Regions from separate parts of the Homo sapiens genome. Here regions 1, 2, 3, 5 and 6 are each linked to region 4. The links are contacts of gene promoters, found by promoter capture Hi-C in blood cells and fetal thymus (Javierre and others, 2016). All regions are on one chromosome and are shown on one strand. Each heading gives the region's core, a stretch centred on a gene start or on the middle of the fragment in contact. The rest is flanking DNA. Distances are from core to core; before and after follow the strand shown. Region 1 has its middle 19 kb from the start of H1-7. Region 2 overlaps LOC105369753 (a long non-coding RNA gene). Region 3 has its middle 53 kb from the start of OR10AD1. Region 4 holds the start of ANP32D (acidic nuclear phosphoprotein 32 family member D). Region 5 has its middle 36 kb from the start of OR10AD1. Region 6 overlaps LOC102725258 (a long non-coding RNA gene).

Evidence for each region. Contacts are between HindIII fragments. The CHiCAGO score rates a contact against its expected background, and 5 or more counts as called.
Region 1: a fragment that was not itself captured here is called in contact with the fragment with the promoter of ANP32D in region 4 in 2 of 17 cell types (endothelial precursors and erythroblasts); the score reaches 6.5 in endothelial precursors.
Region 2: a fragment that was not itself captured here is called in contact with the fragment with the promoter of ANP32D in region 4 in 1 of 17 cell types (endothelial precursors); the score reaches 5.4 in endothelial precursors.
Region 3: a fragment that was not itself captured here is called in contact with the fragment with the promoter of ANP32D in region 4 in 1 of 17 cell types (endothelial precursors); the score reaches 8.9 in endothelial precursors.
Region 5: a fragment that was not itself captured here is called in contact with the fragment with the promoter of ANP32D in region 4 in 4 of 17 cell types (endothelial precursors, megakaryocytes, naive CD4 T cells and 1 more); the score reaches 7.8 in endothelial precursors.
Region 6: a fragment that was not itself captured here is called in contact with the fragment with the promoter of ANP32D in region 4 in 3 of 17 cell types (erythroblasts, endothelial precursors and non-activated CD4 T cells); the score reaches 6.2 in erythroblasts.

Annotation. Positions count from the first base shown.
Region 1 is chr12:48,307,511-48,311,587 of GRCh38, forward strand. No RefSeq gene overlaps it. Among named protein-coding and RNA genes, the nearest start is that of H1-7, 19 kb to the right of the region's middle. The HindIII fragment of the contact is 955 bases long and covers 1,681-2,635 here.
Region 2 is chr12:48,289,588-48,293,799 of GRCh38, forward strand. The region is part of intron 3 of LOC105369753 (a long non-coding RNA gene); the gene reads right to left. Among named protein-coding and RNA genes, the nearest start is that of H1-7, 37 kb to the right of the region's middle. The HindIII fragment of the contact is 1,086 bases long and covers 2,305-3,390 here.
Region 3 is chr12:48,254,562-48,258,694 of GRCh38, forward strand. No RefSeq gene overlaps it. Among named protein-coding and RNA genes, the nearest start is that of OR10AD1, 53 kb to the left of the region's middle. The HindIII fragment of the contact is 1,169 bases long and covers 1,491-2,659 here.
Region 4 is chr12:48,469,915-48,474,393 of GRCh38, forward strand. ANP32D (acidic nuclear phosphoprotein 32 family member D) reads left to right here and starts at 2,645. Exons shown (of 1, transcript NM_012404.3): 1 at 2,645-3,708. The coding sequence starts at 2,751. The coding sequence ends at 3,146. It also overlaps a transcript of C12orf54 not described here. The HindIII fragment of the contact is 4,760 bases long and covers 1-2,952 here.
Region 5 is chr12:48,237,054-48,241,235 of GRCh38, forward strand. It overlaps a transcript of LOC102725258 not described here. Among named protein-coding and RNA genes, the nearest start is that of OR10AD1, 36 kb to the left of the region's middle. The HindIII fragment of the contact is 1,861 bases long and covers 2,003-3,863 here.
Region 6 is chr12:48,219,583-48,224,030 of GRCh38, forward strand. It overlaps LOC102725258 (a long non-coding RNA gene), which reads left to right. Exons shown (of 3, transcript XR_001749122.3): 2 at 2,344-2,478. Among named protein-coding and RNA genes, the nearest start is that of OR10AD1, 19 kb to the left of the region's middle. The HindIII fragment of the contact is 3,609 bases long and covers 1-3,557 here.

The DNA of each region.
Region 1 (4,077 bases), core at 908-3,407, 160 kb before region 4:
TCCTGGGAGGAGAATTTCAGTTTTTTGGCTTTTGGTTTTGTTTTGTTTTGTTTTCCTTCTTGGATAGAAGTAGCACCCTAATCCCTGGGCTTCTGTGCCGTTTAGCATGTGCTTTCCTGGATCTCAAGGCCCATGGCCTACCTTTCTCTGTCCAGGCAGCTCTGGGAGAGTGGAAGAGTGGCTCATCCATCTCTGAAAAGGAGATTCCCCAGTACTGTGAGCTACCGTGTGAATTTGGGACTCCCCTGGCCTCCTGAGGGCCCCTCCAGCTCCCCTGGTGCCTTCTGCCCATGTCACTATGAAGTCTTCCTGTTATGAGCCCACACGTCTAGGGTGGGAAAGATTAAGAATTTTTGAAAATTCTTAATCTTTTAAATAATTCTTAGACTTAATTTTTGTTTTCAGAAGAACCGGGAATGGAGGTTTTCTGAAGACAAACGTTTTCCTAAAAATGGAAGAGGCAGAAAAAGGCCCATTATACCATCAGTGCAGGTAAAGTGAACAGAAGAAAGATGGAATAAGCAGAGGATGTGTTGCGTATTCCATTTTCTTTGGGAAAATTTCCGTTTCTTTTAGGAAGTGAAAAGCCCCTACTTTTTGGTGACTATTAGAGGAGCAAGCCTCCTTGGATTCTTAACTTATTTGGGGGCTCTCTCCCTTCCCTCACTTTTTTTCTCTTTCTAAAAAAGGTCTGCTTTAATTTCTTCAGAGTAGGTGATTTCATTTATAAGGCCTTAGGAATATGCACACTTTGTTTTCTTTAGTCTGTAGCAGCGGTCCCCAACCTTTTTGGCATCAGGGACCACTTTTGTGGAAGACAATTCTTCCATGGACGGGGGCGTTGGGGAGAACGGGGGTTGGGGAGATGGTTTCGGGATGAAACTCATCATCAGGCATTAGAGTCTCATAAAGAGTGGGCAGCCTAGATTCCTCACATGAGCAGTTCACGATAGGGTGCTGATCCTGTGAGAATCTAATGTCGCCACTGATCTGACAGGAGGCAGAGCTCAGGAGGTAATGCTGGCTGCCCACCACCTGGTGTGCTGCCTGGTTTCTGACAGGTACCGGTTGGTGGCCTGGAGATTGGGGACCCCTGGTCTGTAGTACTTTTTGTATTTTCTACATTCTATGCAATGCACTTATATTAATGAGTCAGAAAAGTAGGATATAACTATTATTTAAAAAGAAAAATAACTGTTGAAGTTCAGGAGCTGCAGACAGGACAGAATTAGTTTAACATATTATTTCGAAGTTTTTAGGACTAGGGATACCTTCTTCAGTTTTATCCAACTGTAGGCATTGCTGTTATTATTGGTGCATGATGAAGAGACTTGGTACTTGTGTCTTAGGGATTTTAAGGCAAATGGATCATGGAGAAAAGACCCATTTAGGTGACGGGCTTATGAAGAATGGCTATATGTAAGCAACTAGTGGACTAGGAGAAAGTAGCAACCGTATCTGAAAGTTTATAAGTGTCAACATAATAACTCAACAAAACAAACATTTTGTAATGTAAGTCACATGTAGCCTGGTCCTTGTCTTCTAGAAAGTCATATTTTAGAGTTCTAAGACATGAGATGAAGGATATTTTATCCTCTTCTGGTTAATTAAGGCCTTCAGATACTAGTCCTGAAATTCAACTTTTTTGCTAAGGTTTAAAAATACATTTTTCTCTCCAAAAGCTTCATAGAAGCCCTAGAGACTTTTTCCCCATTGGTTTTTTTTTAAATAGTTTAAAACATAATTATAAACTGTAAATTTTATTTATTCTTTTGATGGTTGAAGAAAGCAGCATATAAGACAGTGGGACAAGTATGATGAAGGCGAGTATTTCCCAAGCATCCAATAAGGGAAATTAGAAGTGAGTGGTGGAGAAAGAACATCTCAATATTTCTGAAATCTGAGAAATATGGAAGCTGATAAGTGAACAGGAATCCAGTGTTAGAGGAAAAACTTACCAAATATTTCCATATAGCAAAAATGTTGGGTTGATTTTAAGTTGGAGTTGTCCTTTGAAGTATTGGCCCATCAAAGCTGCTATTATAGCAGAGCTGTCTGGTTTTTGAGGGACAAATTGCTTCTGGTGGTGATGGAGGTGGGGGTTGAAATATGTGGGATTTGTTTCTAGGACTTGCTGTCATCCTGTGGCAATTAGTGCTAGATCAATGTTTATCTAGCACAGTGTATTAATAGAATTCTCTGTTTTAAAGAGTATAACTTCTGAACCAATTTAGGTGCTTTGTAAAGTTAGCTCTTTTATCTGTTAAGTTTTGTAGCAGGCTTGTGGTTGCAGTATTGTTACATGATTCATATTTCTAGCCTAAGTCCTTGGATCCATGAGTTTATTTATTTTGGGATTTGTAAAGAAGGCTGTGTCTCTTTTTGGCATACTTGTATATATTAGTGTGAAAAAAACATTTTTGTATACTATTTATCTGTAAAAATAATTTTAGAGGTCTTGTGTATATGGTTATATAGAATCTTTCCCCAGTAATGGAGGAGGTGGCGGGAGGTCTTTGCATGAGCTTTAGGGCTTCTAGTACATGTTACATGGTTCCATAAGACTTCACTTACAAAACACAAATTCAAAACTAAATTAAGAATTGTAAGACGGCAACTTCAGCATTAAAACCCAAGCTTGAAGCCCTGTGTAGTAACATGCCCATGAAGCCAGCCTTGCTGATTATATTAAAAGATTCTTCTCCAATGGATGAAGGATACCCATTGCTTATATATTCCTGTTGTGTGATTTGTCTTGTGCAAAATGAAAGGCTCATTCACACTGATGACATTCGAAGTGTTTCTCTTTGCTGCAACTGCTCATTGATTACCTAAGGACAGAGAAATTGTCCCGTACTCATTGGTTACATTCATAAGATGTCTAATATAAATTGTCTCATGTGCCTAACAGATGAAAGATCAATACGTGCTTTTCCACATTCATAGGGATTCTCCCCATTATATACTCTTATGTGTGGTAAATGAAGGATTATATTGGAAGGATTTTTTGTACTGATTACATTCATAGGGCTTTTCACTAGTGTGGTTTCTCATGTTTTCTAAGGGATGAAGTAATACTAAAGGCTTTCCCACCATCTTTGCATTCTATTTTGTATTCTCTTGTACACTGTAAGGGAAAAGCTGTAATCAATATGTCCCCAGTTTGAGCTCCCCAGTTTGCGCTCTCGTGTACATCAAACGTGAGTGCTTCCTGAATATTTTTCCAGTATAATCATGACAGTTACAGGGTTTTTCCCCAGTGTGAATTCTCATGAACACAATGGGAGTAGAACTTACACTGAAAACTTTTCTGTATCAATCACATTTATAGAGATTCTCCTCAGTATTCTCTTCTCTCCTCTAAGGACAGATCTAATGCTAAAGACTTGAAAATGCTGCTTACTGTCATTGTGCTTTATTCTAATGTGAATTATAATATGTATCCAAAGGGATGAGTGATAACTGAAGGCCTTCTGCAGTCCTTACATTCATAAGGTTTATCTCCATTTTGTATTCACATGTACCTCAGAAATTAAGAGTTACTACTGAAACATTTTTCATATTAGTTATATGCAGAGCAGAAAATTCACCAGTTTGAATTTTCTTGTGTTGAATAAGGTTAGACCTTGCACTGATGATATTCATTGAGTGTTTCTCTAAGATGACTTATCTCCATTTTTGCACAATTGTGTTGACTTTTACATTTTACCTAAAAATGTCCTACTTAAGATTTGACCCTTTGATTTTTAAGTAGAACATACAAATACTTGGGAAATTTCATCTTCTGTCATCAACTCATCTTCTTTCTCTAACCAAGAGATCAAACGGAGTTTGCCCATATGATGCCTAAGTGATACCACGTTGGTAGTTCTCCTGTATCTCATTCCTGTGCAGGTTTCACTGAGATGAGTCCAGTAAAGCCCTCTTCATTGAAGGTCACTGAGTCCTGTGATTAGCTTGTCAGCAGCCAGGCAGCCAACACTCCCTTTCTTGCGTTTCCTGTTTGGTGACAGGGAGGGTCCTGAGCAGACCAAATGCTAGTTAAGGGCAGATAAACAACTGCCATCCTGTGAGTTT
Region 2 (4,212 bases), core at 1,598-4,097, 180 kb before region 4:
TTCTTGGGAACCTGAAAATTGTGGTTTGAACACTAACATCTAACTCTGCTCCCTTTTAAACAAAAACAAAAATAGATAAATGGGACTACATTAAACTGAAGATCCTTCTGCACAGCAAAGGAAATAATCAGCAGAGTGAAGAGACAACCTGTAGAATGGGAGAAAATATTTGCAAACTATTCATTCGATAAGGAATGAACATCCAGAATATACAAGGAATTCAAATATCTCAACAGCAAAAAAAAAAAAAAAGAGAGAGAGAGAAGGAAAAGGAAAGAAAAAATAAAAAAAACTCCACTAAAAAGCAGGCAATGGAACTCAGTAGATAGTTCTCAAAAGAAGACACACAAATGGCCAAAAAACATAAAAAAAAAATGCTTGACAACACTAATTGCCAGAGAAATGCAAATCAAAATCAAAATATCATGTCACCCCAGTTAGAATGTCTATTATCAAAAAGACAAAAATAACAAATGCTGATGAAGATGTGGGGAAAAGAGAATTCTTATACAGTGGTGATGGGAATATAAATTAGCATAGCCATTATGAAAAACAGTATGGAGGTTTCTCAAAAAACCAAAAGTAGAACTACCATATGATCCAGCAATTTCACTGCTGGGTATTTATCCAAAGGAAGGGAAATCAATATAGCAAAGGGATTCCCACATCTCCATGATTATTGCAGCACCATTCACAGTAGCCAAGATATGGAATCAAATGTCCGTGAGTAGATGATAAAGAAAATATGGTATGCATACACAATGCAATATCATCCAGCCATAAGAAATAATGAAATCCTGTCATTTGCAGCAACATAGATGAGCCTGGAGGACATGTTAAGCAAAACAGGCCCAGGTAGGTAAATACTGCATGTTCTCATTCATATGTGTGAGCTAAAAAAAATTTTTAGCATATGGAAGTAGAGGGTATAATTCGGATATTAGGGGCTGGGAATGCAAGAGGAGAGGAGGAGAGGTTGGTTAACAAATTCAAAATTGGAAGGGCACGGTGGCTCACGCCTGCAATCCCAGCACTTTGGGAGGCCAAGGCGGGTGGATCACAAGGTCAGGAGTTTGAGACCAGCCTGGCCAATATGGTGAAACCCCGTCTCTACTAAAAATACAAAAACTCGCCAGGTGTGGTGGTGTGCTCCTATAGTCCCAGCTACTTCGGAGGTTGAGACAGGAGAATTGCTTGAACCTGGGAGTTGGAGGTTGCAGTGAGCTGAGATCGTGCCACTGCACTCCAGCCTGGGTGACAGAGTGAGACTCCGTCTCAAAAACAAACAAACAAACAAAACCAAATTCAAAATTATAGATATATAGGAGGAATTAGTTCCGGTGTTATGCATCATTGTAGGGTAAATATGGTTAACTATAATTTATTGTATATTTTCAAAAATCTAGAAGAGAGAATTTCGAATGTCCATAATACAAAGAAATGATAAATATTTGAGGTGATATACTAATTAGCCTGAGTTGACTTTTACACATTTTATACATGTATTGATATATCATTCTATACCCCATAAATATGTATAATTATTACATGTCAACTGAAAATAAAAAGACAGCATTTCTGAGTAGAAGGGGAAACAATCCTGAGCAATGAAATTTTGCAAACAGATAAACAGATAGATGTGTAATATTTGATTTTGCAAAGCTAAGAAAGAAAAATTCCAGTACAGCAGCTAGGTAGGGGAATGGGACCAAGAACTAACTGTGATGTACATTGTAAAATCCTCTGGAAATTAGGAATGAAGGGTGGGGGGGTGAAAGTTAAGAAAGAAGAATTGGTTGAAAAAATTTTTAAAAACGTTTAAATTACTTTATCCCTTCCCCCATTGCACATAGCTGTGAGAACAATCTGTTATCCACCCTAACAGAAAATTGAAAATTTATTCTTTGGAGAAACAGAGTAATTTTGTTGCAGATACACCAGGTCTACTTGAAGATATTAATACTATGTGCAAAATAGAGAGACAAAAGAAATATACGCCTTTTGAGTGCTAAGATTTCCAGATCTCTTCTCCCATTTGAATTGCAGAATGTTGGTAACCAGGTATTTACCCTCCAGGTAAAGGACTGAAAGAGTCTTAACTGATGAATCAGAGCAGCTCAAGAGGAAAGACCTAAATATATTTATATTAGGGCTTCTCAATAAAAGAATCTACCTGATTAACCAATAAAACAGCTCAAAGTTGATAAGTTGATAAGTGCCAAAGCACTCAGAATTCCAATTCATATTACAGTCTTCCACTCTAATTGTAAACAGACAACCAAGTATCACCAGACAAATGAGGAAAGCTTCCGATATAAAAGATAAAGACCAAACCAAACTAATAGAAAAAAAAAGCACTTTGGAGGAAACAGAGAATATGCAGAGAGAAGAAAACAAAAGTCAAAACCGAAAAATACTCAGAGAGATAAACTGCATCCACAAAACAAGTACAGGATGCTATACAAATGATATTATAAAACAAACAAGAGTTCTTAGAATTAAACATGATAAGAGAAATGGAAATCTCAATAGAATAGTTGGGAAATAAAGTTAAGGATATCTCCTAGGAAGTAAGAAAAAGAGCCAAAGAGACTATCATGTGGGAGGAAACTATCACCACAATATAGCCATGTGTTGCTTAACAATGGGGAAAAGTTTTGAGAAATGTGTCATTAGCTAATGTTGTCATTATGCAAATGTCATAGAGTATACTTACCACGTCTTTTAGTATTTACAACGTCTTTTAGTACTATTTGTCTTTATTCTTAGTGTGCACATATTCTGTTAATCAAGAGGGGCCATAATGTCTGATTTTGTCCTATATTTAAGTTGGATATTCACTTGGAATATCCAGCTTGCTCTCCCCTTGTAAACGCTCACAGTTGACACTACAACCCACGCCCTGTTTCTTCCCAAAATGCACAATGAAATTTTGTAGACTTAGAAAAACTCTTAAGCTAACTCAGCCTGCAGCCTATTTTTGTATAAGAATAGTTTTACATTTTTTAATGGTTGAAAAAATCAAAATAATAACATTTTATGATACATAAAATTGTATGAAATTCATATTTCAATATCCCTGCTCAATTGTTTACATTTGGTCTCTGGCTGTTTTTGTGCTACAATGGCAGGTTTGAGTAGTTGTGACAGTGACCAGGTGGCCAGCAAAGTAATGAATATTTACTAACCGGCCTTTTAAAGAAAAAGTTTACTGTAAAACCTTTTCAGTGTAATGAGACTTAAAAACTCAGCATCACAGGATGGGTATATGTCTGAGCATATCTCCTCTTTTAGCACCTTTTTGAGATCATACTCCAGAAATACACATTTACAAGCAAACACACACTCCAAACTCTCAGAAAATCACCTCTTATAGCCTCACACCATCAAAGCTTTTTGTCAAATTTTATCATGACATTTCATGGTAGTCCCCATTCTTCAGCCTTATGATTTCTGAATCATAAACTTATAGCCTATTGTTTTTCTCAATAGAAACAAAGATAATTAAAACTTACTTAGGATTTGACTATAAGAAAATGCCATCTGGGGATGTCATGTTCCAGTCTCTAGAATTACTGTCAGTGGGAAGAGTGGAAAACTAGGAAGGTGGATGATCCAGAAAAGAAGAAAATCACTAAAAACTAGTAATATCTTGATTTTCCTCACTACTATTCTATCTTCCCAAAGGTAGTACTACTAACAACCCTAGAAAAATGAAAGCTAAAATGTATTTTTTCATCATTAACTTGAAATCTGGATCTATTTTCCATAAAATTTAGTTAGAAAGGTATTTTGCTTTTGAGAGCTTCTCTTGGTGGGCCTTGAGAACATTGAGACTTAGGGTTGTCCCAATCTGAATTTGCCTCAGGTGAGATTAAGAAGTTTTGGGTGGATGCAGAGGGATAGAAGTGATAAACTATTCTCTGCCCCATTCATCTATATTGGGATTAACCTACTGAAACATTTCCCTTCGTTTACCTGGGCCATCTCTGTTCCCACAATCTGGGATGCAGATGCTGTAACCCCTCTTTTTAGGGCAGTTCTTCAGGTTAGGTATCAGTTTTCTCTACTGTGGACTCAATGATGCCAGCCAACCCCATCAGAAGGACTTCCTGGTCCTGTTTCTAGATTGCAACCAGAAGACCATTTCTTGTTCCTATAGCATTCAGGATTAAGACTTCTTGTTATATTGAGTTAAATTTTGCATAACCC
Region 3 (4,133 bases), core at 825-3,324, 220 kb before region 4:
ATAGCCAAAAGAGTATAATTGGATTGTTTGTAACACAAAGGTTAAATGCTTGAGGGGATGGATACCCCATTTTCCATGATGTGATTATTACAAATTGCAAGCCTGTATCAAAATATCTCCTTTATCCGATAAATATATATACCTACTATATACCCACAAAAATTAAAAATTAAAAAAATGATAAAGCAAATTAACTGTAATTTGGAATATTTCCAAAAATGCAAGGTGAAATATTATAGACTACTGATATGGAAATATATGAAGGATTTCTTACTCTGTTAACTTGAAAATTTTAAATTAAAGAACCAAGGGGAAATTCAGTAAAAAAATTAACAGACTGAAACACAAGACAGAAAGATGAAAGATGAAATCAGTAGAAATTATCTTGACATCAAGATGCTAACTGTAACAAAAATTCTTATCATACAATAGCATGAATTGATTAACAGAAGGAGACAAATTTCAAATAGAAGAAATGGTTAGGCTTTTACATTATTTGATAACACAGTAACAAGTCATATGAGCAAACTGGAAATAATTAAAATATATTGCTAATTTGACAAGAAATGTTGACATCCATGGAGATAAGATTAAACTCGTGACAGCATTTCAATTAGAATATTAATGACAATGTCATTAAAAGTATTAGCAATATTTTAATACATTAAAAAAGTATTTTAATGTTCTTAGTATATTAAAAGACTATTTAAAAAATTGACATCAATGGAGATAATTTTAAACTCATTATACCACTGCAATAAGAACATTAATGACATTGTTAGGAAAAGAGTGTTGAAGATTAGTCACTGCACAAGAAAACTTGCAAAGCCTTTACATTTCATAGTGCAACACGTCATAAAAATTGAGAGATTTTTTTCAAATTTGACATCCATTTTAAAATTTTACATGACATTACTGGATGTAATAACTGGAGCCATGAAGCTGAGAAATCTTTTTTAAACTTTTTTTTTTTTTTTTTTTTTTTTTTTTTTTTTGAGACGGAGTCTCGCTCTGTCGCCCAGGCCGGACTGCGGACTGCAGTGGCGCAATCTCGGCTCACTGCAAGCTCCGCTTCCCGGGTTCACGCCATTCTCCTGCCTCAGCCTCCCGAGTAGCTGGGACCACAGGCGCCCGCCACAGCGCCCGGCTAATTTTTTGTATTTTTAGTAGAGACGGGGTTTCACCTTGTTAGCCAGGATGGTCTCGATCTCCTGACCTCATGATCCACCCGCCTCGGCCTCCCAAAGTGCTGGGATTACAGGCGTGAGCCACCGCGCCCGGCCTAAACTTTTGATGATAAAAAATGGATTTCAACTAACTACGGTAAAGACCAAATTATCTATTTTTTCTTTTTTGTGGAAAATAATATAACAAAATTTATACTTATACATGTTAGTAACATTTTTCTTTTACATTAAGTAATATTTAATTTTTATGTTAATATATTTCCTAACTGAGCCAAATAGAATTAGGATATTCTCTGGTTGTAAAGCTTTTTGTTTTTCCTGGAGTAAATCCCTTTTTCTTTTCTTGTTTAGAGAGGGGGACTTGCTGTTTCACCAAGGCTGGAGGGCAGTGGCGTGATTTTAGCTCACTGCAGCCTCGAACTCCTGAACCCAAGCGATCCTCCCACCTAAGCCTCCTGAGTAGCTGGGAATACAGGTGCTTGCCACTGCACCTGGTTAATTTTTTTTTCTAGAGACGTATTTCATCTTGTTGTCCAGGGTGGTATACTTTTTACTTTTTCTCATTTGGTTAGGTTTCTACACATCTATTTTTAATTTATTCCCAATCTCTCCAAGAAAACTTTTTCATCTTGATGTTTTAATTTTATTTTAAATAATGCTCTTAATGGAAATGTTCAGATATTCAAAAAATAGAATAGAATAAATTTTTATGTTCCCATCATTCTGCTTCAACAGTGACCAACACATCTTCAATCTTGTTTCATCTATACCCTCACCTCACTCTCTAATCTCCACTAAATTATTTTGAAACAAATTCCAAACATCATACAATTTCATTCATAAATACTTCAGTATGTATTTCTAAGATAAGAAATCTTAAAATTAGCATCACAATCACACCGTTATCTTACCTAAAAATTCTTTAAAATTTCTTAATAACTTCAAGTCCAGTCAATGTCCATATTTCCTAATTATCTTCTATATTGTGATTGGTTGATGTATCTGTAAGTCTCTTAATCTATACTGCTCTTCTGCCATATATTTTTCTTATTATTCTAACTTTTGTTGAATAAATCAGATTATTTGTCCTGAATGATGTTACATACTTGGGATTTTGCTGATTGCCTTTCTGTGGTGGTCTTTAACATTATTCTGTCCCATGTATTTTCTGTAAATTGGCAATTAGATCTAGAGGCTTATCAGGTTCATGTTTGATTTTTTTCTTCTAAGACTGCTTTATAATTGGTGTTGGATACTTCCACCAGGAAGCATATAATGTCTGACTTTCTCTCTTTTTGTGCTGTCAGCTATTAATAATTGTTAGGTCCAGGAATTCATTATGGGCTGTAAAATGTTGATATTCTAATTCTATTATTTCATCTTTGACTTTAGAGAGAAAATTCCTCTCATCAATTATTCGATTACCTACCAGTCGCTACATCAATACCTCTCCAATCACTTTGATTGTCTGAAGCTTATTCTGTCATAGATTCCTCAGCAAAAAATTCTTTTGGGTTCTTGCATACATAACAGCTTGAGTGTGATCTTTATAGTTAAAGTTCAGTTTAGTTAGATAATTCATGGCTCACCTTTTCTATCTTGACTGCCTAAAATACGTTAATCTGTTGTTTTCTGGTGTACAGCATTATTACTGACAATGTGATGACAATCTGGTTTTTTTCCCTTATCAGTGACTTTGTCTATTTGTATGGATGCCCAGAGGGTTTTTAAAAAATTTTGTTTAAAATCTTATTATTTTACAGACTATGTCTTGATAGTGACCATTCCGAATCCATTTTCTCAGGTACACAGTATTTTCTTCTTACATGGACATTCAAGTAATTTTTTTATTTTAGGAAAGTTTTTTATTGTTGTTATAGTTTTTAGGATTTCTTATGTTCCATTGCTTAAATTTTCTACTTTGGGGATTCCTGTTATGCCAGGGAGTGTTGAACCTCCACTGAAGATTGTAATCCCTTTCTTAGAATGATGTTTTCAGGGCCGGGTTGTGGTGAGTCTCTCCTGTAATCCCAGCACTTTTGGAGGCTGAGGTGGGAGGATAGCTTGAGGCCAAGAGTTTGAGACCAGCATGGGTAACATACCCATCTCTATAGAAAAAAAAAAAAAAAGTCGGTCATGGTGGTGGGAGGATTGCTTGAGCCCAGGAGTTTGAGACTGCATGGAATATGTTTATGCCATATGATCATGCCACTGCACTCCAGCTGGGGTGATAGCCTGTCTCTAAGAAAATAGCAATAATAAAAAATAGTGTTTTAAAATTCGTAAAACACAGACCGGGCTGGTGGCTCACACCTGTAATCCCAGCACTTTGGGAGGCCGAGGTGGGTGGATCACCTGAGGTCAGGAGTTCGAGACCAGCCTGGCCAAACTGGTGGAACCCCATCTCTACTAAAAATACAAAAATTAGCTGGGCGTGGTGGCACATGCTTGTAATCCCAGCTACTCGGGAGGCTGAGGCAGAAGAATCACTTGAACCCAGGAGGCAGAGGTTGCAGTGAGCCTAGATCGTGCCATTGCACTCCAGCCTGGGCGACAGAGTGAGACTCCATCTCGAATAATAATAATAATAAGACACAATACATAGGTTTAGAAAGGAAAGCAATTATATGCTGCAATGTAGTTTTGTCAAAACTACATTTGGAAAACACAGGTTGAAAAGATATTTGCACACCCATGTTCAACAGCAGCCTTATTCACAATAACCAAAAGGTGGAAGTAACCCAAGTGGCCATCAATAGATAAATGGACAAACAAAATGTGGTATAAGCATACAATGGAATATTATTCAGCCTTAAAAAGAAAGGAAATTCTGCTACAACATGGATGAAACTTGAAGATATCGTGCTTAGTGAAAGAAGCCAGTCACAAAAGGGCGAATATTGTATGATTCCACTTATAGGTGGTATAAAAGCCAAATAGTCGATA
Region 4 (4,479 bases), core at 1,395-3,894:
TTTCACTCCCACAGGTGAGAACATGAAGTATTTGATTTTCTGTTCCTGCATTAATTTCCTTAGGATTATGGCCTCCATCTCCAACCACGTTGCTGCAAAGGACATGACTTTATTCATTTTTATGGCTACATGCTATTCCATGGTGTCTATGTACCACATTTTCTTTATCCAGTCTAACCATTGATGAGCACCTAGGTTGATTCCATGTCTTTACTACTCTGAATAGTGCAGCGATGAACATATGCATGCATGTTTCTTTTTGGTAGAATGATTTATTTTCCTTTGGGTAGATACCCAGTAATGGAACTGGTGGATCAAATGTATTTCTGTTTTAAGTTCTTTGAGAAATCTCCAAACTGCTTTCCACAGTGGCTGAACTAATTTACATTCCCACCAACAATGTAGAAGTGTTGTCTTTTCTCCGCAGCCTCACCAACATCTGTTATTTTTTTACTTTTTGGTAATAGCCATTCCAACTGGTGGAAGATGGTATCTCATTGTGATTTTGATCTGCATTTCTCTGATGAGCATTTTCTCATATGTTTACTTGTGTGTGTTCTTTCGAGAAGTGTCTGTTCATGTCCTTTGCCCATTTTTCATGGGGTAGCTTTTTGCTTGTTGATTTAAGTTCCTTATAGAGTCTTGATATTAGATCTTTGTCAGATGCATAGTTTGCAAATATTTTCTCCCATTCTGTAGGTAGTCTGTTTACTGATGGCTTCTTTGGCTGTGCAGAATCTCTTTAGTTTAATTAGGTCCCACTGGTCCATTTTTTTTTGTTTTTGTTGCAATTGCTTTTGGGGACTTAGCCAAAAATTCTTTGCCAAGGTTGATGTCAACAAGGGCATTTCCTAGGTTTTCTTCTAGAATTTGTTTTCAATTTTTATGTTTATTTATTCTTTTTTAATTTTTTAAAATTTTGTGGGTGCATATTAGATATATATACTTATGGCGTACATGGGATGTTTTGATACAGGCATGCAATGTGAAATAAGCACATCATGGATAATGGAGTATCCATCCCCAGAAGCATTTATCTTTCAAGTTACAAATAATGCAATTACACTCTTTAAATTATTTTTAAATGTACAATTAAGTTATTTTTATTATAGTCACCCTGTTGTGCTATCAAATAGTAGGTCTTATTCATTCTTTTTATTTTTTTGTACCCATTAACCATCCTCATCTCCCCCCAACAGCCCCCACTACACTTCCCAGCCCCTCCTCCATGAGTTCTATTGTTTTGATTTTTAGATCCCACAAATAAGTGAGAACATGCAATGTTTGTCTTTCTGTGCCTGGCTTATTTCACTTAACATAATAAACTCCAGTTCCATTCATGTTGTTGCAAGTGACTGGATCTCATTATTTTTATGGCTGACGAGTACTCCATTGTGTATATGCACCACATTTTCTTTATCCATCCATCTGCTGATGGACATTTAGGTTGCTTCCAAATCTTAGTAAACAGTGCTGGAACCAACATAGGAGTGCAGATATCTCTTCTATATACTAATTTCCTTTCTTTGGGGCATATTTTCTAGGATTTTTATAGGTTGAAGTCTTGCATTTAAAACTTTAATCCATCTTCAGTTAGTTTTTATGTATGGTGAAAGGTAAGGGTCTGGTTTCATTCTTCTGCATATGGCTAGCCAGTTATCCCAGCACCATTTATTGAAAAGAAAGTCCTTTCCCCATTGCTTGTTTTTCTTGGTCTTGTCAAAGATCAGATATTTTTAAGTGTAAGGCTTTATTTCAGAAGTTTCTATTCTGTTCCATTTGTCTATGTGTCTGTTTTTGTGTCGATACCATGCTGTTTTGGTTACTATAGCTTTATAGGATAGTTTGAAGTCAGGTAGTGTGATGTCTCTGGCTTTGTTCTTTTTACTTGGGGCTACTTTTGCTATTCAGGCTATTTTTTGGTTCCACGTGAATTCAGAGTAGTTTTTTTCTAATTCTGTGATGGATGACATTGGTAATTTGATAGAAATAGTGTTGAATCTGTAAGCCACTTTGGGGAATATGACCGTTTTAATAATATTGATCTTACAATTCATGAACATGGGATGTTTTTCCACTTATTTGTGCCATCTCTGGTTTCTTTGAGCAGTGATTTGTAGTTCTCCTTGTAGAAATTTTTCACCTCTCCTTGGTTAGCTGTATTCCTAGGTATTTCATTTTCTTTGTGGCTATTGTAAATGGGGTTGTGTTCTTGATTTATTCTCAGCTTGAATACTATTGGTGTATAGAAATGCTACTAGTTTTGTATATTGATTTTGTATCCTGAAATCTTACTAAAACTGTTTATCAGCTCTATTAACCTTTTGGCAGAGTCTTTAGGGTTTTCTGCATTTTAAAATGAGCATTCTGGCTGCTGCAGGAAGATAAGAATGATCTAGTTAGGAGGCTTTGACAACAGTCCGTGAGATATATACTATGGCGTGGCCTAGAGATGATGAGAAGTGATCAGATTTAGGATACACTGTAAAGGTACAGCCAATACATCTATCTGATGTAAAATAGAAAAATAGAGGAAGTAGTCATTATTCTAAGGTTTTGGAGCAACTGGGTGAATGATAGCACAATTTAATGTGATGGGAGATAATAGATTTTGGGTGTGTTTGGAATTAAGAATTTACTTTCGGAGAACCCAGCAGAGCTGGTTGAGCTTTCAAATGTGCGGTTGTGGGTTCGGGGTTTATTGGTTGAATTCCGCTGGCTCAGGAGCCTCTGCAGAGAAAGCGTGAGAGATGGAGATGGGCAAATGGATTCATTTAGAGCTGCGGAACAGGACGCCCTCCGATGTGAAAGAACTTTTCCTGGACAACAGTCAGTCAAATGAAGGCAAATTGGAAGGCCTCACAGATGAATTTGAAGAACTGGAATTATTAAATACAATCAACATAGGCCTCACCTCAATTGCAAACTTGCCAAAGTTAAACAAACTTAAGAAGCTTGAACTAAGCAGTAACAGAGCCTCAGTGGGCCTAGAAGTATTGGCAGAAAAGTGTCCAAACCTCATACATCTAAATTTAAGTGGCAACAAAATTAAAGACCTCAGCACAATAGAGCCCCTGAAAAAGTTAGAAAACCTCGAGAGCTTAGACCTTTTCACTTGCGAGGTAACCAACCTGAACAACTACTGAGAAAAGATGTTCAAGCTCCTCCTGCAACTCACATATCTCAACGGCTGTGACCCGGATGACAAGGAGGCCCCTAACTCGGATGGTGAGGGCTTTGTGGAGTGCCTGGATGACAAGGAGGAGGATGAGGATGAGGAGGAGTATGATGAAGATGCTCAGGTAATGGAAGATGAGGAGGACGAGGATGAGGAGGAGGAACGTGAAGAGGAGGACGTGAGTGGAGACGAGGAGGAGAAGGATGAAGGTTATAACAATGGAGAGGTAGATGATGAGGAAGATGAAGAAGAGCTTGGTGAAGAAGAAAGGGGTCAGAAGCGAAAATAAGAAACTGAAGATGAGGGAGAAGACGATGCCTAAGTGGAATAATCTATTTTGAAAAATTCCTTTTGTGATTTTACTGTTTTTAGCCGTATCCCCTCCCCCACTCCAATCCTGCCCCCTGAAACTTATTTTTTTCTGATTGTAACGTTGCTGTGGGAGCAAGAGAGGAAAAGTGTACTGGGGGTTGTGAGGGAAGGGAGGGGAGGAGGGGGTGGAATAAAATACTATTTTTACTGCCACTCTTTATTTTTTCCCCCTACTTTTTCCTTGTGTCCAGTTTTTGTCCCTGTAAATGCAATAGTTAAGTACACACTAAGCATTTGTTCCTGGCTCTCAAAGAAGATGGTTTGGAGTTCTCTTATGTTTCCTGGTATTTTCCAAGTCTCAGGTTGGGTGGAAGTCCGCGGCTGGTCTCAGTTTGGTTACTCAACACCCAGAAGGGTCTGAGCACCAGCCATAGCTTTTGCTTTGATTCACATGCTTTTCGCGGAACTGCTAGAGGCATCCAACACCCTGGTTTGTAAATAGCAACCTAAAGGTGTATTTTGGCACTGGTTTGGGGACATTCCCCATCTCTCATCCCTTTTCCCCCTTCACAGATCGTGGTGGGCTTCCTTCTACAAAGAGGACTCAGATGTTACTCTTGAGAGCTTAAGAGCCAGAGAGCTGAAAATGGCAGTCTTGTGAGTTACAAGGAAAATGGATTTGGTAATAATAATTAAAAGTGAAGAAACAAACCCTCAAACTTCAACTTCTTTACAAGAAAAAAAAACTGTCCTATCTTGTTCTGTAAAATATTAGAATGCTTTGTTTTACAAAAATGATGAGAGAATTCTTCTACATGTATTTCTGTGCTTAGAACAATTTTATGGAGCCAGGTGGAGGAGCCAAGATGGCCGAATGGGAACAGCTCTGGTCTACAGCTCCCAGCATGAGCGATACAGAAGACAGGTGATTTCTGCATTTCCAACTGAGGTACTGGGTTCATCTCACTGGGGAGTGCCAGACAGTAGGT
Region 5 (4,182 bases), core at 1,683-4,182, 230 kb before region 4:
CCAGCGAGGAGGCGGTGGGAGAACAGCTCTCAAATCTGCCTCCCCAAAGATAAAGCTTAAGGGTATTTATGGGTTAGGGAAGTGAGGTGGTCTAAGGTGTGGGGAAAGGTGGTTGCTAGTGGGGAAAAATGAAGTAACAGGTTCATTCTGCAACAGCCTAGCTGGAGTTTGTGGCATTCCACAGCACATATGTACAGAAAATGGCAGCATTAGCATGGACTGAGGATGGAGTCTTTGGCCCTCCAACATAAAAAGGCCGCCTCTCCAGCACTTGAGCAGACCCAGTTAAAAGGTCAGTGGTCTCAACCAGTTTGAACTGGACAGAAGCAGGTCCAAGTTTCTGAAAAACAACTGAAGTAACCGTTACCATGGTGACCTGTGAATGTTATCTATAAAGTAGCTGGTGAAGGTTACGTTTCAGCATTCAGTGGCATGCCCTTCAGTGATTGCAGACTTCAACTTCAGGGAGAGATAAAAAATAACAAAAAGCAAGCAACCAAAAGCAAGCAGGACAGGCAGACCTGACCAAACTAACCCCTCAGTTTTATAATTCTAATTTTAATGTTTGTATTCATTAACACAGAATCACAGCACTCCCAGGACAAAAGTGAGGGTAAAAAAACTACAAAATAGTAATAGCAGGACAAAAACATCTACTGTTGCTCCAGCACAGAGTAAGCTTTTGATTAATGATTTTTGAGAAAGGAAATGAATATTTAAACAATGTGATGTTTGTTAATCACTTTCTAACTATAAGCCCACTAACTAAAATCTGCCTGAAATTCACTTATCAAATCTGCAATATTTAATGCAAGATTAGATTGATTGTTTTAATCCTCTGAAAGTTTTGCATTACTTTGGATACTTTCCCCTTTCTGTTAGTTTTCTTTTGAGCATTTCAAGGAGTTTTAAATTCCAATTTATCTATGGATCCTTCTGCCTTAATTTCAAGCAAACAAGCAAATTATATACTATAATTCAGGAAATGAGAGTGTTCAGTGTAAGTCAATCATACAGAGAAAAAAGGCAACTTTTTCTTCAAGATTAGAGAAACCACTATCATAACATTTAATATTTCTCCATCATTTCATTGATCCTTCTGCAAAGGAAGAGAACTTTGAGACATAAATCCATCTCTTTCCTTTCTTGGTTTTATGGAAGCAACTAGATGCTTGCTTCACACCATAATGCTAAGTACAAGTAGTATAAAAATTTGAATATATAAAAAACTCACTAAAAAACCTGGAAGGAAATATAATTAAATACTGATCTAAAATTTTGAATGGAGAACTTCTGAGGCAAAAGTGATAAGTTATGAGCCCTCTGTCCCACCCCAATGTTTTATTAAGCCTGCAGTGTTTCCTTTGAAGGATGTTGTATGTAATAATCTGGATTCTGGAAAAATTCAGATCTTGCCACAGTGGGCCTATTCTTATCAACAACAAATTGGAATTTAGTGGTGTTCCTCCTGTTTGGACAAGCTGCAAGTTCTTCCCAGTTTCAAGACTACCTGTTGCCTTGTATCGGGCCCACATCAGCCCCACATCAGCCCCACATCAGCCCATTGTATTATCTCTCTGACCAGTGGTGGAGTTTGAGCTTGTGGACTTTGTCTACATCATAGAAGAAGTCATGAAGAGAAAGATGACATATCTGACTAACATCAAGTGGAAAACTTTGGTATATAAAAATAAGCCACTTCACTTATTTTTAACAAGTAACTGATTAGAAAAATGAGCAAATACAAGAGTCAACCATATATTAAATTTATGATATCAAGAGTTCATCAAAAATACCAATATCTTAAGGGACAAAAGGATAAGAACTCAATTGATAGAAGAGGAAACACCATCCAAAAGCATTCAAACTCATTAGTAACCAAACAATAGTTTTAAAACAATTACATATGATTTCTGATCCATTAAATTAAAAAAATTAAAGTATAACATCAATGCTAATACTCCATTGTTGGCTGGAAAGTAGTTTGGCAATATGTACCAAAAGCTTTCAAAATGTTTATTCCCTTTAATGTGGAGTCCCTATACTCACACAGATCCCAGAGTCCAAGGGCCTGGATTCAAATCCAGACTCCTCCATTTATCAACGATGTAAACAGGGGTAATGTAAACCAGCACATCTCGATTTCCTCATCTCTAAAATGAGAATAATCATAATAGTACTTACATTATTGGATTACTGTGATGATTAAATGAATAATAGGACTTTTGGGAACAGTGCCTAGCAAACAGTGGTACAATATAAGTTTGCTAAATGAATAGATTTATCTATTTTAAAAATTTACTTGAGGAAGCTACCAACTGAGAAAAGGATTTATGCAGAAAATTGTGTATTATAGTACTATTTATAATATTTATAATAGCAAAAAATTAAGAGCTATAATAGAGAATGATTAGCTATTTCATAGAAAATGAAATTAATGAAATGTGATGCAGTCATTAAAATTATGTTTATGAACTTTGTGTAATAATGTTGAAATCATAATTTTAAGTGAAATAAAAAGCAAAATATATACCAGCATATTTGGCATATTACAATAATTAAATTACAATAATTAAATTTTTATTTAAATTACAATAGATTTAGATTACAATAATTAAAAAGAAATTTTCTTTGCTTTGGAAGGAAGATTAGATAAAGGATTGGAAGGAAGTCAGCCAAAATGTTAAGAGTAGCTGCTTACAGATAGTGGAGCTATAAACGATTTATTTTTTAATGTTCTTCTCTATTTTCTATTTGTTTTTAAACTCAGCATTCTTTAGTTTTGTATATTTTTTAATTCACATTTTTAAGGTAGAAAGTGATACTTTGTGTAAGGATTTGGAAGGCTTAAACTCATGGTATAATTAACCAAAATACATCAAATTTAATAATTCTTAGATATACAAACTTCAGAAGTCATATTCTGAGATAATTTCTTTAAATATTAAAATTAAGAGAAAAAAAGACAGGCTCTTAAGCAGATGCAAAAATACCTATGTTACAAGCCTGCACATTCTGCACATGTATCCCAGAACTTAAAGTAAAATAAAAAAAATAATAATAAGATCATGCCAGTGGTTTTTAAACATACTTTATGTATTTAATTGAAAATCACATCTCCTTTACCTTCTTTCAGCATATATTGTACTTAAAACTCTGAACATTAGCCCTCAGAATAAGGAAATGAATAATAAAAAAAGCAAAAATAGAAAACTCTAAAATAACTGAAATAATCTAATCACATATAAGATGTAATGAATTTAATAAATGTGAACTTATATTTATATACAATTTATATACATATTGAAAATTAATCACTTAGGCTCACAAGAGAATTCGTTTTAGGATACTTTGTCTGCTCCCTTTAGGCCTTGATGGAATTAATGTCTAAATAGCTTTTGAGATTGTTATGGAAACTAAAAGGATACTGGTATCAAATATCTGGCTATGTCTTACCTACATTTCTTCTGGTCTTATTTATGTTGTCCCAGCCTCACCAAAAATTGAGATTTATGTTTAACCTTTTGTTTACCATGTGATGGACAAATTTGGCAAGTTTGTCAATTTATAATAGTATTTTCTATTGTATCATCTAGACCTTTTTTGAGGTAAATATGATTTCTTTCCCTTTTCTCCATCAATTCTAGATTTTGCCCTCTTGTAGTTTCTTCCACTGCAAATTCTCCGTATCTCTGCAATTGAGGAGCCCTGAACTACACTTCACATTTAATGATGATCTGACTGACACTTTGAGGGATTTTGCTTGGCATGCCACATTTTTACTGCTATCGAAAAGGCAAAAGTACATGCTCTGTTCACAAGGAAACTTCTCTAGCATCCACATGAGTGGGAGATAGCAGATAAGCTTATGGATCTCATATCCACTTATTCTTTCCACCTAAATACTTGATAGTTGTTTATCATCTTCCCTCCAGAGTCCCAATCTAAATTACAAATAAATTAAATATCAAACAAATCTTGGAATAGATTCCTTCTCCTGACAGTAGCCACCCCTAGAAGGTACTTTAAATAATTTGTAAAAACAAACAAAAAAATACCCATTCTGTCACCAAAAAAAAAAAAAAACACCCTAAAAGGTAGAGAGAAAACATAGTTGAAAAGTGACCAGTTACTCCACACATAGATTAGGACCTGCATATTAAGAGTGTGGTTATTTGTACA
Region 6 (4,448 bases), core at 503-3,002, 250 kb before region 4:
TACAATGTAAGTGCACTAACCCCATTCCTAAAACAGATTCCATATAATAAACCATAAAATATGTATTATATTTTATTTCCTGTGTTTACAGCATGCTAAGAGAACAACAGAAACATTGTTGCTGTTGAATGTATTCAATACTGTCCTGCCCCTCTTAGGTAAATATGACAAGAATCAGAGCATTACATTATAATAAGACATTTTCCCACCAGTCTAGTCTACAATGGCATACTTTGTACATTGTGCTGCTGTGGTCATGGAATGCAGATTTCTGTCCCTTAATTCACCCGCACTGTACTTTGAGAATGCAAAATATGTGTATCACCAGCATTCTTTTCTTCCAGGACCTGCCAGACATTATTATGACTGAGTATATTTTAATTATAACCAAAACTCTATTGTTTTCTTTGTTTGCAATTTTATTTCCACACATATAATAATATCACTTAAAATAATTGTATGGGACCTCGAGGGGGATACAGTAAACAATATTACTCTCCCATATGGTTCTGAATCAACTGAGAAATAAGACAATGAGTCTGCAGATAGAGGTCAAAATATCACCTTTATTAATAACAAAGTAGACATGATCTTACAGATAATGCTTTTAATGTTTCACTATTAAAGATGATGTTTGCTATGCGGTTTTGGTTTATAATCACTTTAATAGCTTAAGGAAGTTCTTTTCTATTCCTGGTCTGCTGAGATTTTTTTCAAAAAATTACAAACAGACATGAATTTTCAATAAAATAGATGGCATTCCTGCATCTCTTAAGATGATTATGTGATTTTTCATTTTCTGTTCCTGTGGTAATTTACATTAATTCATTTTTTAATGTTAAATCAACTTCAAGGCTGGCACAGTGGCTCATGCCTGTAATCCCAGCACTTTGGGAGGCTGAGGTGGAAGGATCACTTGAGGACAGGAATTCGAGACCAGCCTGTGCAATACAGCGAGACCCCATCTCTAAAAAAAATTTTTTTATATTAGCCAGGCATGGTGATTCATGCCTGTAGTCCTAGCTACTCAGGAGACTGAGGCAGAAGGACCACTTGAGCCCAGGAGGTTGAGGCTGATTGCACCATTGCACTCCAGCCTGGGTGACAAAGAGAGACCCTGTCTCTAAAAAAATTAAATTAAATTAAAAAATAAAAATAAAAAATCAACTTTGAATTACTGGGATAAACTTTACTTTGGTCATGATATAAGGTATAATCTTTTAAATATATTGTAATATACAATTTGCTAAAATTTTGCTTAGGAGTTTTGCAACTATGTCCAAGAGTGAAATTATCTTTTTTGCCGGGGGCAAATTTTAGTTTCAAAGTTATATTTACATCACTAAAAAGGTTGAGGTACTTCCTTTTGTTCTAGTATAGTCAAAGTTAGCATTTTTTTCCTTAATTGTTTGATAGTATCTGCCTTAAAATCATATGTCTGGCTTTATAGAAATATTTTTAAACTATTCATTTAATCTCATGCTTATATGTGTGTTTATGTTTTTCTATTTCTTCTTCAACTTGGAAAATTATATTTTTCTAATAACTTTTCATTTATCTACATTATCAGATTTAATGGCATAAAATTTTCCATAGTATTTTCTTAAAAATATTTAAAACAGCCGGGCGCGGTGGCTCACGCCTGTAATCCCAGCACTTTGGGAGGCGAGGCGGGCAGATCACGAGGTCAGGGAATCGAGACCATCCTGGCTAACACAGTAAAACCCCGTCTCTACTAAAAATACAAAAAAAATAGCCGGTTGTGGTGGCAGGCGCCTGTAGTCACAGCTGCTCGGGAGGCTGAGGCAGGAGAATGGCGTGAACCCGGGAAGCGGACTTTGCAGTGAGCCGAGATCGCGCCACAGCACTCTAGCCTGGGCGACAGAGTGAAACTCCGTCTCAAAAAAAAAAAAAAAAATTAAAACATATATTAGTTTTCTATTGCAGTGTAACGTTACCACAAATTTAGTGGCTTATAGTAAAATTTATCATATGATTTTTTTGCTTTATCTTATCTTACAATATCTTAAAATTTATCTTACAATTTTTCTTTACTATTACAAGTGAAAATTATCTCACCATTTCCATGGGTTGGGAGTCTGGGTATGAACTAGCTGAGTCTTCTGCTCAGTCTCACTAGGTGGAAATCAAGGAGTCATCTGGGGCTGCCATTCTCATCTGAGGCATTGGTCTTCTTCCAAGCTCACTGGTTGCTGGCAGAATCATTTTTTTGCAGTCGTATGACTTACTAGCTGTCATCTGGGGATTGGTCTCAGCTCCTAGAGTTCCTGGCCACACGGCCCCCACAGGCAGTTCACAGCATGGATGTTTGTTTTCTTCCAGGCCAGCAGGAGCATATCACTGTGACTTACAACCCTTCTCTAGTCTGCTACAATGGAATCTTAAACAAGAAAATTTTATATTTTGACTTGCATCATTGAGAAAAACACTGCCAACCTGATCGTGGTTCCTTTGAAGGTAATCTGCCTTTTTTTTTTTTTTTCAGGCTCCTCTTAAGTTTTTCTCTTTGCCTTTCATTTTCAGAAGTTCTAGTGATGTGTCAAGCTATGGCTTTCTTTTTATAAATAAAATATTTTGAAGATATTTAAGGCCTCTTTAATTCCAAGCTATTTTCTCTTCAAATATTGCTTTTGCTCTATCCATTCTTTCTTTCATCTTCTTTATGACATACCTTCATCTTTACCAATTCTTTCTTTCTTTTTGTTTTTTTTTTGTTTTTTGTTTTTTTTTTGAGACAGGGTCTTGCTTTGTTGCCCAGGGTGGAGTGCAGTGGCATGATCATGGCTTACTGTAGCCTTGACCTCCCGAGCTCAAGCTATCCTCCCACATCAGCCTCCTGAGTAGCTGGGACTACAGGCTTGCACCACCACGCCCCGATAATTTTTTGTATTTTTTGTAGAGACAGAGTTTTGCCATGTTGCCTAGGCTGGTCTTGAACTCCTGGACTCAAACGATCCTCCCATCTCAGCCTCCCAAAGTGTCTAGATTACAGGCATGAGTCACTCACTTTACCAGTTCTTTCCTCAGCTACATCAGCTATTGCTTTGCTTTGCTTCTTTCTTTCTTTTTCTTTCTTTCTTTTTCTGTCTCTCTCTCCCTCCCTCCCTTCCTCCCTCTTTCTTTCTTTCTTTCTTTTTTTTTTTTGAGACAGAGTCTCGCTCTGTCACCCAGGCAGGAGTGCAATGGCATGATCTTGGCTCATTGCAACCTCTGCCTCCCGGGTTCAAGCGATTCTCCTGCCTCAGCCTCCCGAGTAGCTGGGTCCGCCACCACTCCTAGCTAATTTTTGTATTTTTAGTAGAGGCAGGTTTCACCATGTTGGCCAGTCTGGTCTCAAACTCCTGACCTGAGGTGATCCACCAGCCTCGGCCACCCAAAGTGCTGGGATTACAGGCGTGAACCACCACGCCTGGCGACATCAGCTATTTCTAATGTGGCTAAATACATAGTGAATGCTCCTGGATCTTGGCTCTAAAATTCTTCACTGCATTTTTAGTTCTTTAATGCCTTTATTGTAGATATTTTAAAATGTGTCAAGCTTTTGGTTGTTTTTGTTGAGATGGTTGATCCAAATTACCTTGTCTATAAATATCAGAAGCAGAAGCCCCCCTTATAATTCAGTCTGCAACATCTGTGCCCCTTTCATTTTTAATATTGTTTATTTAAGTCTGTTTTTTTATAACATAAATCATGCCAGAGAACTGTCAAAGTATTAATTTCTTCGACCTTTATTAGTTTAATCAATCTTTGAATTTTGTTCAATCCATCTATTATGTGCATTTTTTCTTCCTTTCCCTTTCCTTGCATAATGTATTTTATTCTGTGATTAAGTTGTTTGCTAATTTTTAAAATTTTAACTTCTTTTAAGAGAAAGTTCTGCCCTAATTACTGCCCTAGTTATATTCCACAAAATTATATGTAGTTTCATTGTTATTTTGGGTTTCACAAATTTTTCTAATTTTTATTATCGTTCTTTTGCTGAAAGCCAAACATGGATGTTTACAGGTTTTCCATTTAGAAGAGAGAATTTACTTTGTCTGTGTAACCTCAATGAATAAGACTGGAACCAAAGAGAAGAAACATCAGAGAAAAATATTGACTGGTTTTTCTAATTAAAATGCACCAATTATAGCTGACTCCAGATTAGGGAATATACTACAAGCCCAGTTGGGAGAAAGGAAAGAGGATAGAAATCCATTTTTATTTGAATGGATCACTGGGGCCAATTGCACTCCACCTACTTTACAGCCAAAAAGAGCTCATTCATTTGATAGGGGAGTGCCTGTTATGTTGTCAGTATTGTGCTATGTGGCCAGGATACAAAATGACACATGGAAACTCTCTCCCTTCCCTCATTGGTATTCTCCTACATCCCAAGTCATTCTTATATCAGGAAGATAAGTAAGAATATAGAGAACCCATGATAT